3 separate regions of the Homo sapiens genome follow, and all the other regions are linked to region 1. The links are contacts of gene promoters, found by promoter capture Hi-C in human tissues and cell types (Jung and others, 2019). All regions are on one chromosome and are shown on one strand. Each heading gives the region's core, a stretch centred on a gene start or on the middle of the fragment in contact. The rest is flanking DNA. Distances are from core to core; before and after follow the strand shown. Region 1 holds the start of STK38 (serine/threonine kinase 38). Region 2 overlaps CPNE5 (copine 5). Region 3 overlaps BRPF3-AS1 (BRPF3 antisense RNA 1).

The links. Contacts are between HindIII fragments. The study calls those that stand out against the background at their distance.
Region 2: a contact is called between a fragment that was not itself captured here and the fragment with the promoter of STK38 in region 1, in 1 of the 25 tissues and cell types used here (mesenchymal stem cells).
Region 3: a contact is called between a fragment that was not itself captured here and the fragment with the promoter of STK38 in region 1, in 1 of the 25 tissues and cell types used here (IMR-90 fibroblasts).

What each region holds. Positions count from the first base shown.
Region 1 is chr6:36,546,164-36,549,320 of GRCh38, forward strand. It overlaps STK38 (serine/threonine kinase 38), which reads right to left and starts at 1,316. Exons shown (of 14, transcript NM_007271.4): 1 at 1,027-1,316. RefSeq lists an enhancer at 851-1,374 and a silencer at 1,122-1,461. The HindIII fragment of the contact is 5,084 bases long and covers 1-3,157 here.
Region 2 is chr6:36,811,256-36,814,460 of GRCh38, forward strand. The region is part of intron 3 of CPNE5 (copine 5); the gene reads right to left. Among named protein-coding and RNA genes, the nearest start is that of CPNE5, 27 kb to the right of the region's middle. The HindIII fragment of the contact is 3,236 bases long and covers 1-2,989 here.
Region 3 is chr6:36,191,508-36,194,396 of GRCh38, forward strand. The region is part of intron 1 of BRPF3-AS1 (BRPF3 antisense RNA 1); the gene reads right to left. Among named protein-coding and RNA genes, the nearest start is that of BRPF3, 3.8 kb to the right of the region's middle. The HindIII fragment of the contact is 4,910 bases long and covers 1-2,889 here.

The DNA of each region.
Region 1 (3,157 bases), core at 66-2,565:
TTGTTTTAATATTCTTCCCCCATTTCATGCACAGTGCTATGCACTTAGCACCTTAAGAAAGATTAACTAGGAAATATACTCATTTTTGATGTCCATTCCTAGGAGTTTATGTGTGATGGGGGATAGGGCTGGGACATGAAATGGTTTGCTATAGCGTTCTCTCCTCTTAGGAGGAAGCTGGTATCTAACGTTTAGGGTGGGGAGGAGAGCCTGTTATCGAGGTGGTGGTTGTTTTATGTTTAGGGAAACCAAATATATTGCCTGGCTAATTCAGAGGCAGGGTGAGCTCAAAGGGTGGAGACACTCAGGGTCTACTTCACTCCAACCCTCCTCGGTGCATTTCAAACAGAACAAGTTTCTCTCCGAGTCTTTTAGTCGTTTCAGAATGAACTGAGAGATCTGGTCTCTCTGCCGGCCGTTCTGCCCGCTTTCTGACACAGACTTTCCTCTAAGCCCTTACCGACTTTTTCCTCTGGCTGTTGCTTTTCCACTCTCTTCTTAAGAATTTTCCCTGCCTTTTCCTGTGATTTGAAGCTTATCTGAAGCCCAGTATCCTAAGACTAACGGAGAAAGGAGCCGACTCAAAGATACCACACCCCAAGGGGGGCTTTCGACATCTCTGCCTCAGACCACAGTTCACAGACCCCAGAAGAAGGAAAAGGAGATAAAAACCGGTGATGACCGAGATCCCTGAGGGACTGACTGGTGGCAGGGAGCAGACAAAGGTGGCAACATGGAAAGGAAAGCCTGGCTCCCGCTCCAACTGCAAAAGGAGAAAGATAAAGGATGGGGTGGAAAGGCTGGGACTGGAAAAATGTGGAGAGGGCCAACAAGGGGCATCTGGAGACGGGGGAAGAAGGGGGTTAAGGAGAGGGGCGGAGAGAGGCCAAGAGGCTGAGAGGTTAGGGCTTGAAAGAGGGCGCCGGCGAGCAGGAGAAAGCCCAAGAAGGAGTCGGAGGTTGGGGAAGGAGGAGATAAAGGAAAAACCCCGGGATGGAGTGAAGACGGCGGCAGCAAGCAACTCACCAGAGCCCAGGGAGAGGCAGGGCTGGGGACGGCGGAGAGCCGCAGACGCCCCTTCGGCCAGTAGTCTCGACTTGAAGGCTGGCGAAGCCCCGGCGGCGGCAGCCAACGAGCCAAAGACGGGAGGGGACGCGTGAGGGACTCTGAGACAGGGGGCAACAGGCGGTTACGGGTGAGGACAACAGGAAGCGTTCCAACTGCCGGAAAAGACGCGAGCGCTGAGGGGCCAAGGCAGCCCGGTCCCCCGCCGCGGAGACGGGCTGGCGCGGCAGCCCGGGGCCGAGACTACGCATGCGCGACTTCCCGGAGCGGCCGGGATTGCGGAACTGCGCTTGCGTGGCCCCGCCCTGCCCCTCCCTTCACCCCCTGCCTAGGGCTGGCTGGACCTGGGTGAGGCCAGATGTGTGAGTGTGAGGCGGTCTCGAAGTAGGCTGGGCTGAGGGGGAAGTTCCATTGTTTTCTTTTGTTTTACTTTTTACTTCGAAATAATTATGGACTCACAAGAAGTTGCAAAATTAATACATACAGGTTCCCTATACCATCACCCACCCAGCTTACCTCAACATTTTTCTTAAGATACAACATTCTCAAAGCCAGGAAATTGACATTCGCACAATACAATTAACTAAACCAATACAATTAACTAAACCAATACAATTAACTTCATTACAGACCACACTCGGATTTAACCTGTTGGGTATGCAGTCATGTGCGTGTGTGTGAGTGTGTGTGTAGTTCTATGAAATGTTGTCACCTGTATAGTTCCCACCCACCCCCCTACCCCGTGTAGAACAGGTCTGCTGGAGCCCTTGGCCCCCCTCCTCTTCCTTAAAGTAAGGACCTTACCTGGGATAAGGTGAGCTCTCATAGGTTTGGGAGGTTACCCAGCGGGCGACCCAGTGTGGACAGAAGAAGGTGCTTTTCAAGGCCACCCAACTCTTATTCTGTACTACTTTTGGGGGTAAAGAGGTCCCAAGTTTAATAGCCTTTGGGCACTTGTCGTTTCTTGAGAATGGAGCACAAAGCCCTCAACTACAAAGTGTCAAGCTCCTGGAAACTAAGATGAACGAGACATGGTCCCTGACTGCCTGCAAAGGGGCCATCTAGGGAGAGAAGGAAGCATGTGCTGCGAGTTATTCATTCATTTCATCTTCAAAGCCCAGTTTCCTTTTGTCTAGCCTCTTAACAAAAATCACTTCTCGCCAGGCGCGGTGGCTCCTGCCTGTAATTCCAGCACTTTGGGAGGTCCAGGTGGGAGGATAGCTTGAGCCTAGGAGTTTGAGACCAGTCTGGGCAACATAAGGAGAATCCACCTCTAAAAAAATTTTTGTAATTGGCCAGCATGGTGGCAAGTGCCTGTGGTCCCACCTACTGTGGAGGCTGAAGCAGGAGGATTGATTGAGTCCAGGAGTTCAGGGCTGCTATGAGCCATGATCATGACACTGCACCCCAGCCTGGGCAACGGAGGGAGACCCTGTCTCAATCAGTCACTACATACATATCAATCAATCACTTCGCCTTTCATTCTCTCTGCCCAGAGGCCCTTCTCCCCAAATGCCTGTTGTCAAAGTCCTACCCATTCTTAAGCTTTTAATAATAGTCCAAGATGTCTGCATAATGCTTTACAGTTTACAAACAACTTTCACTTATTTAATCTCACTTGGTCCTCACTTTGGCAGTGACACACGAGGTTTTGCAGATGAAGTAATTGATACTTAGAGAAGCTAAGTGACTTGTCTGAATTCCCACGGCTAGTAAGCCAAGTAGCCAAGAGGGGAACCCCATTTTCTGTCTGCAAATCCAATGTTCTTTCTCCTCTTCTCTTTCCTCCTTCCAAAGCCCAGCTCAAACCTTATCTTCCTCCTGGAACTTTCCCAGTTTCAGAAGAGGAATTTCACTCTCTCTTCTCTCTTATATATATGTTTTTTTTGGTGGGGGGAGGGGGGTTGTTTTTGTTTTGTTTTGAGACGGAGTGTCGCTCTATCACTAGGCTGGAGTGTAGTGGCACGATCTCGGCTCACTGCAACCTCCACCTCCCAGGCTCAAGTGATTCTCCTGCCTCAGCCTCCTTAGTAGCTGGGACTACAGGACTACAGGCACGTGCCACCATGCCCAGCTAATCTTTTCTTCTTCT
Region 2 (3,205 bases), core at 122-2,621, 270 kb after region 1:
ACTTGTCCCCCAGCTCACTCCAAAACATCGATAGCTCCTGCCAAATGGCATCACGATGTCTGAAATGATACTGTCAATGGTTCCTTCCTCCAGATAAAGCATTGGTTTCTTACTTAGGGCTTCTTATAAGAAGAGCCATTATTGAGCTTTTTCTGCAGGCCAGGCACTTTACACGAATTAGCTTATTTACTCCTCACAGTAGGCTTGTGAGCCTAAGTGCTTGGCCAAGATCCCCCACCTGGGCAGGTGGTGGGCCCATTTTTAAACTTGACTTTGGAGTGCACACTTTCAACAGCTCAGCCACAACTGTAGAGTGCACCTGGACACTAACACTGAAAAGCAAATAGATCTATCAGCCACCAGGGGACCTGGCCTAGAACTCAGGGTTTATTAGAAAAGCCAACTCCTTTCTTCAAATGAAATCTCAGGCTCATGTCTAATGTATTACACAGAAATAATGAACACCTCTGCTTGAAGGAGGAAAGGGAGGCAGGGGCTACACACATATTCACGGTGGATCCTGGAGCTGCCACCCTCAAATCCTGGGGATAGAAAAGCACACTTTGGGCTGGGCGCAGTGGCTCATGACTGTAATCCCAGCACTTTGGGAGGCCGAGGTGGGCGGATCTCCTGAGCTCAGGAATTTGAGACCAGCCTGGCCAACATGGTGAAACCCCATCTCTACGAAAAATACAAAAATTAGCTGGGGGTGGTGGCATATGCCTGTAATCCTAGTTACTCGGGAGGCTGAGGCAGGAGAATTGCTTGGACCCAGGAGGTGGAGGTTGCAGTGAGCCGAGATTGTGTCACCACACTCCAGCCTGGGCGACAGAGTGAGACTCCGTCTCAAAAACAAACAAACAAGAAAAGCCCACTTTGAAAGTCAGTGGCCTGGGCAGAGGAGAAGACCAGGGACTCCGACTCGGAAAACCACATTCACATCCCAGCTCTGCCACTTCCTAGCTGTGTTGCTGGGCAAAGCCAGGATCCCTCTGAGCTCTGCTTCCTCATCTGGGTGTGGTGAGGGCCAAGGGAGATAATGGGGTGCTGCTGATGTGGAGACTGTACAGGGTAGAAGGCATATCAGTCACCCTCTTATTTAAGGAGGGGAAGGAAAGGGATAGAGCCTCTTTACAGCTTGCCTGATGGTACTGTTTAATAATAAAAAGAATATTTACAGGTCCTGAGCACAGGCAGGCACTGCTAAGTGATTCTGCCATGTGGTCCCTACCACAGTCCACTAAGCAGGCATTGGGAACCCATTTTATTGATGAAAAAAACTAAGGCTCAGAGAGAGGTTAAGGAAAGTGGCAAAGTCAGGATTCAAAGGGACATCCCAGACAGCACCTCACTGTGTCAAAGCAGGTTTTAAAGCCCTGACCCTAAGACTGTGAGTAGGTGGCCATAGACCCATCTAGTCCCTAAAGTAAAGCTTTGGTCCTGGACTGCCTAACCCTGATCACGGGGAGTCAGAGCCCTGAAAATTCAGCTGCATGACAAGAGCAAAGGCCACTAAAGGCTTTCCAAGTGACCTAAGGCTCAGGAGGGACCTCTCTTTGCAGAGGCAGACTTCTCTGCAAAAAGGAGAGAGTCCAGAAAGCCTACCCCAAGCTTGCCTTGGAGTCCACCTCTTAGAGAGGCCTGCCTTCCGCTTTGTGCCTTAGCAATGCTGATGGTCCACTCATTCCTTTGTATCTTTAGATAATGGTCTATGTGGAATGACCAAGGCCAGGTCACCAGGGATCCTAAATTGGGCTCAAGGCCAGGCAGGCAGAGGGTTATTTCTTTTCAGATTTAAACTCTTGGCATTGAACGAACTGGATCCCCTGTGTTCATGCCCACCACAGTCTTATTCCAAAACCTCCACAAGACTGCAAATTATCTTCCTGCTTCTGCCCTTTCCCCTGCAGTCCACTCTGCACACAGTGGCCAGGGCTGTCTTTCTGAAACATAAACCAGGTTGCATCACTCCCCTGCTTAAAACCCTTAAATAGGCCAGGTGTGGTGGCCCACGCCTGTAATCCCAGCATTTTGGGAGGTTTAGGAGGGAGGATCACCTGAGGTCAGGAGTTCAAGACCAGCCTGCTCAACATGGTGAAACTCTGCCTCTACTAAAAATACAAAAATTAGCCAGGCATGGTGGCGCATGCCTGTAGTCCCAGCTACTTGGGAGGGTGAGGCAGGAGAATCACTTGAACCCGGGAGGCAGAGGTTTCAGTGAGCTGAGATCGAGCCATTGCACTCCAGCCTGGGCAATGGAGCAAGACTCCATCTCAAACAAAACAAAATAAAACCCTCAAGTAGCTTAGCATCACACTTAGATCAGTATCAGAACTCTTTATATGGCCTCTGAAGCCCTACAGGATCTGAACCTGATGACCTCTGTGACCGTATTGTCCACTTTCTTAATTGTTCACACCACTCAAACTACACCAGCCTTCTTTTTGTCCTTGAAATACAGTAAGCTTGTTCCCACCTCAGGGCCTTTGCACTTGCTGTTCCCTCCACCTGCAACACCCTGCCCCCCAGAATGATGCATGGCACCACTCAAGACTCAGCTCCAGTGCCACCAAGTTTGGCTTGGTTCACAGGATCTCCAAGGGCGGCCTCTCCCACTGTGATGGAGTGCCCAGGTCAATGGTAGATTGCGGTTAATATTTCCAGGCATTTTCATAAGCATTACCTTAGTTAGTCTACCCACAAAGGTCTCTTAGCCCCTTTTTATCGATTAGTAAGCTGAGACTTGAGAAGATAAATAACTCACCTAGGTCATACAGTTAGTAAATATCAGAGCTGGTATGAAAACCCAGAGTTTTGGACATCAAGTTCAGGCCTCATCTGACAAATGCATTTGACTGTTATTCATGATGTCTTTAGGGACCAGATGGGAAAATATAGCACATAGGTGGCTGAACGGCCTACCCCAAAGGTCAATTAAAAAACTGAAGTCAATCTGGGAAAAGATCTCTAGTGGAGGAACGCAGTACTCCATCCCATTCAATTCCTTGTCACCTGTGTCGGTGAGGACTACAGCTGACCCAGGACCAAGAGGCATAACCAAGATGCTGAATGCAAGATCGTAATTCAACATGGTCTCCATAAACTGTAACAACGGACTGAATCCAACAAACGACACATGATGGCAATAAATGTGAAATCACAGATTTAGGTTCAAAAACTCATTGCCAACTCTGAGGTAGGGAAA
Region 3 (2,889 bases), core at 71-2,570, 350 kb before region 1:
GCCCCTTCATGTCTAGCTCCCTACCCAACCAACAGTCTCCATGCTCTGACTTTACCTTACCAGCCTTCTCTCTCATATCCCTCATTTTTGGGTCAATGGGTAACCCACTGTTTCCTGAAACAATCTTATGGCATTCCATGTGTTAAAGAAAAGACAGCAGACCCCAAATGGAGTCATTCATGCTGAGAGGTTCCATGACACCAAACCAAAACCTGTATTTTACTGTAAGATCTGACTCTTCAAGAAATCAGGAGAGAGATGATAGTCAAATCCCATTAAACCAACAAGATTTCATTTACATTCCTATAAAGAAAAATAATCTTGAAAAGACCAATCTGCTATTTGCTCATTGTTCCTGATTTATTTCACTTCTTTCTGCCTATAAAACTCACCTACTTGTTTAGCTCATAGGAACTCCTTTCTATTTTGTAGACTGGATGTTGCCCAGTTCATAAACAGCTAATAAAGCCAATTGGATCTTTGGGACTCATTTGTTGAAATTTTATTCTTTGATACGTTCTTCCTCTTTGCTCATGCGGGTGGCTCAGCCTGGACCACACTCCCTCTACCATCTTTCTAGCTGACACACCTACCTGAGAGCTTTCAGGTAGAGCTCAGATAGCACTTTCTTCACAGAGCCTTCCCTCTTCTCCTAAACAGACGAGCTCACTCCCTCCTCCAAACTTTGGCACTTCGTTTGCATCTCTCTTGAAGTGCTTATATTGTAGCACGTTCCAGTTATAAATACCCTTGCTTTATACTGTGATTAGAATCTAAATGCCTTCAAGTCTGCAAGCATACTCTTTTCACCTTTGTGGCCTTTACAGCCATAAAATAGAACCTTACCAGCAGCTCACAAATAGTAATTGAATAAATATGTATTTCAGTGTGACCAAAAGAGGTTCCAGAGAACTTGAGCTGATTTCATCATTTCTTCAATCCTCAGGTTCCCACCTCCAATAGGAGCTCCCGAGCAACCCTTTGCCACCTCTTAATTTGCAATGATTGTACCAAACTGTGAGAACCTACAAAGTTTGAACTTAGATTCTTCTTCAATCTTCTCCTTTGTTCTTATGTCCAATCAGACAAAACAGTTGCTTTGTCATCTGATTTCTGATTTGACCTTTCCTTTTCCTCTTTCTCTAACACATTTTCCATCATTCTGCTTAATGCCTTTTTATTTTCATAATGCCTAATTACCTATAGTAAACTCTTCCAGGTTTACCGGATCTCCTGTTCTACTTTCTCCAATACATAAAGAGGATAACAGTAACATTTTATAGAGTTAGTAAGTTGATAAATAAGATATGGTGTGCATATTGGACCTAGTTTGTACATGTACCTACTACCCCATTGTACAATCTTCTCCTGCTCATGTCCTCTGGTTTTAGGAGTTGATACATGACAAGCAGCATGTCCCTCTGGCCACAGTTATTGGCTCAGGATGGCTGAGAAATTGCAAGATACAGTATGCTGATGACATAATTCGAGTCCTTTGACTCGATCTTGTCTATAGCTAGATGCACCCCTGGACTTTCTGGTTATGAGAGTTTATTTCCTTTATTAAACTCACTTAAGTTGGTTTTCTGCTAACTGCAACAAAGATCTTTAATAAATGGAGTATATAAAGCACTAAGCACAGTACCTTGTACATAAGTGTTAGGTATTATTTTTATTATCCCTGTCCCCTTGCCATACCTCCTACCCAATTCAATCTTTTTCTTATCATCTGCCCATACATACCAGCTAGGATAATTTCCGCATTATTCCCTGCATATTTTCCCTTTGCCTGGACTGTCCTGTCACCAACCCAATGTCACTTTACACTCTTTTCACCAGTTCACATCCATCATGATTTAGAACTTGGCTTAAAGAAGTCTCCCATTCTCCAAGAAGCCTTCTTTGAATAATGGTGGCTCCATACTCTTCACTGCCTTATCTATTTTTTCTTGTATGTGTTTTCTACTTATTTCTACCATTCTGGATTGCACACTACTCAAGGCAAGAAAAAATATATTCTATCTATACTTATGATCATTAGTCCCTTTCTAGGTTGAGATTTTGTCATTATTTTCCAAAGAACTTGTGCAGTATTAGACACACTCTAAGTGGTCAATGAATACGTTTTAGAAATACATAAATGGAATTAAATCTAGAGAGTGTGGTATGTTACTCTATTTAAGACCTGTTGTTAACCTAGCTAAACTTTTCCCATTTTCCAAGCAAACTTTACATTCTTAAACCATTTTAATTAGTGTAAAAGTATCGGCCGGGCGCGGTGGCTCACGCCTGTAATCCCAGCACTTTGGGAGGCCGAGGCGGGCGGATCACGAGGTCAGGAGATCGAGACCATCCCGGCTAAAACGGTGAAACCCCGTCTCTACTAAAAATACAAAAAATTAGCTGGGCGTAGTGGCGGGCGCCTGTAGTCCCAGCTACTTGGGAGGCTGAGGCAGGAGAATGGCTTGAACCCGGGAGGCGGAGCTTGCAGTGAGCCGAGATCCCGCCACTGCACTCCAGCCTGGGCGACAGAGCAAGACTCCGTCTCAAAAAAAAAAAAAAAAAAAAAAAAAGTATCACAATGATTCCAACCTCAAACATTCCTCCCAACTGTGGTTTCAGAATTCTTTTAGTCAAGTATCTAAGGAAGGAATATTCTATTAAAAATAATTTAACAATCAATCAAGGCCTATTTTTTTCCTTATCATCCACGTTATTAATCCAGTGGGTACTGCGTCTGACCCCTGAGAGGTTTCTTGGCCTGATAAACTAATGACAATAGTGAAGCATTAACAAAGATATCCTGAGATGCTGAAAAAAAGTATGATGGGGAAGTATGAAAGAAAGAGGTGGGGAAATGGTGATTTTTTTTTGTATTCATGTTTCTTT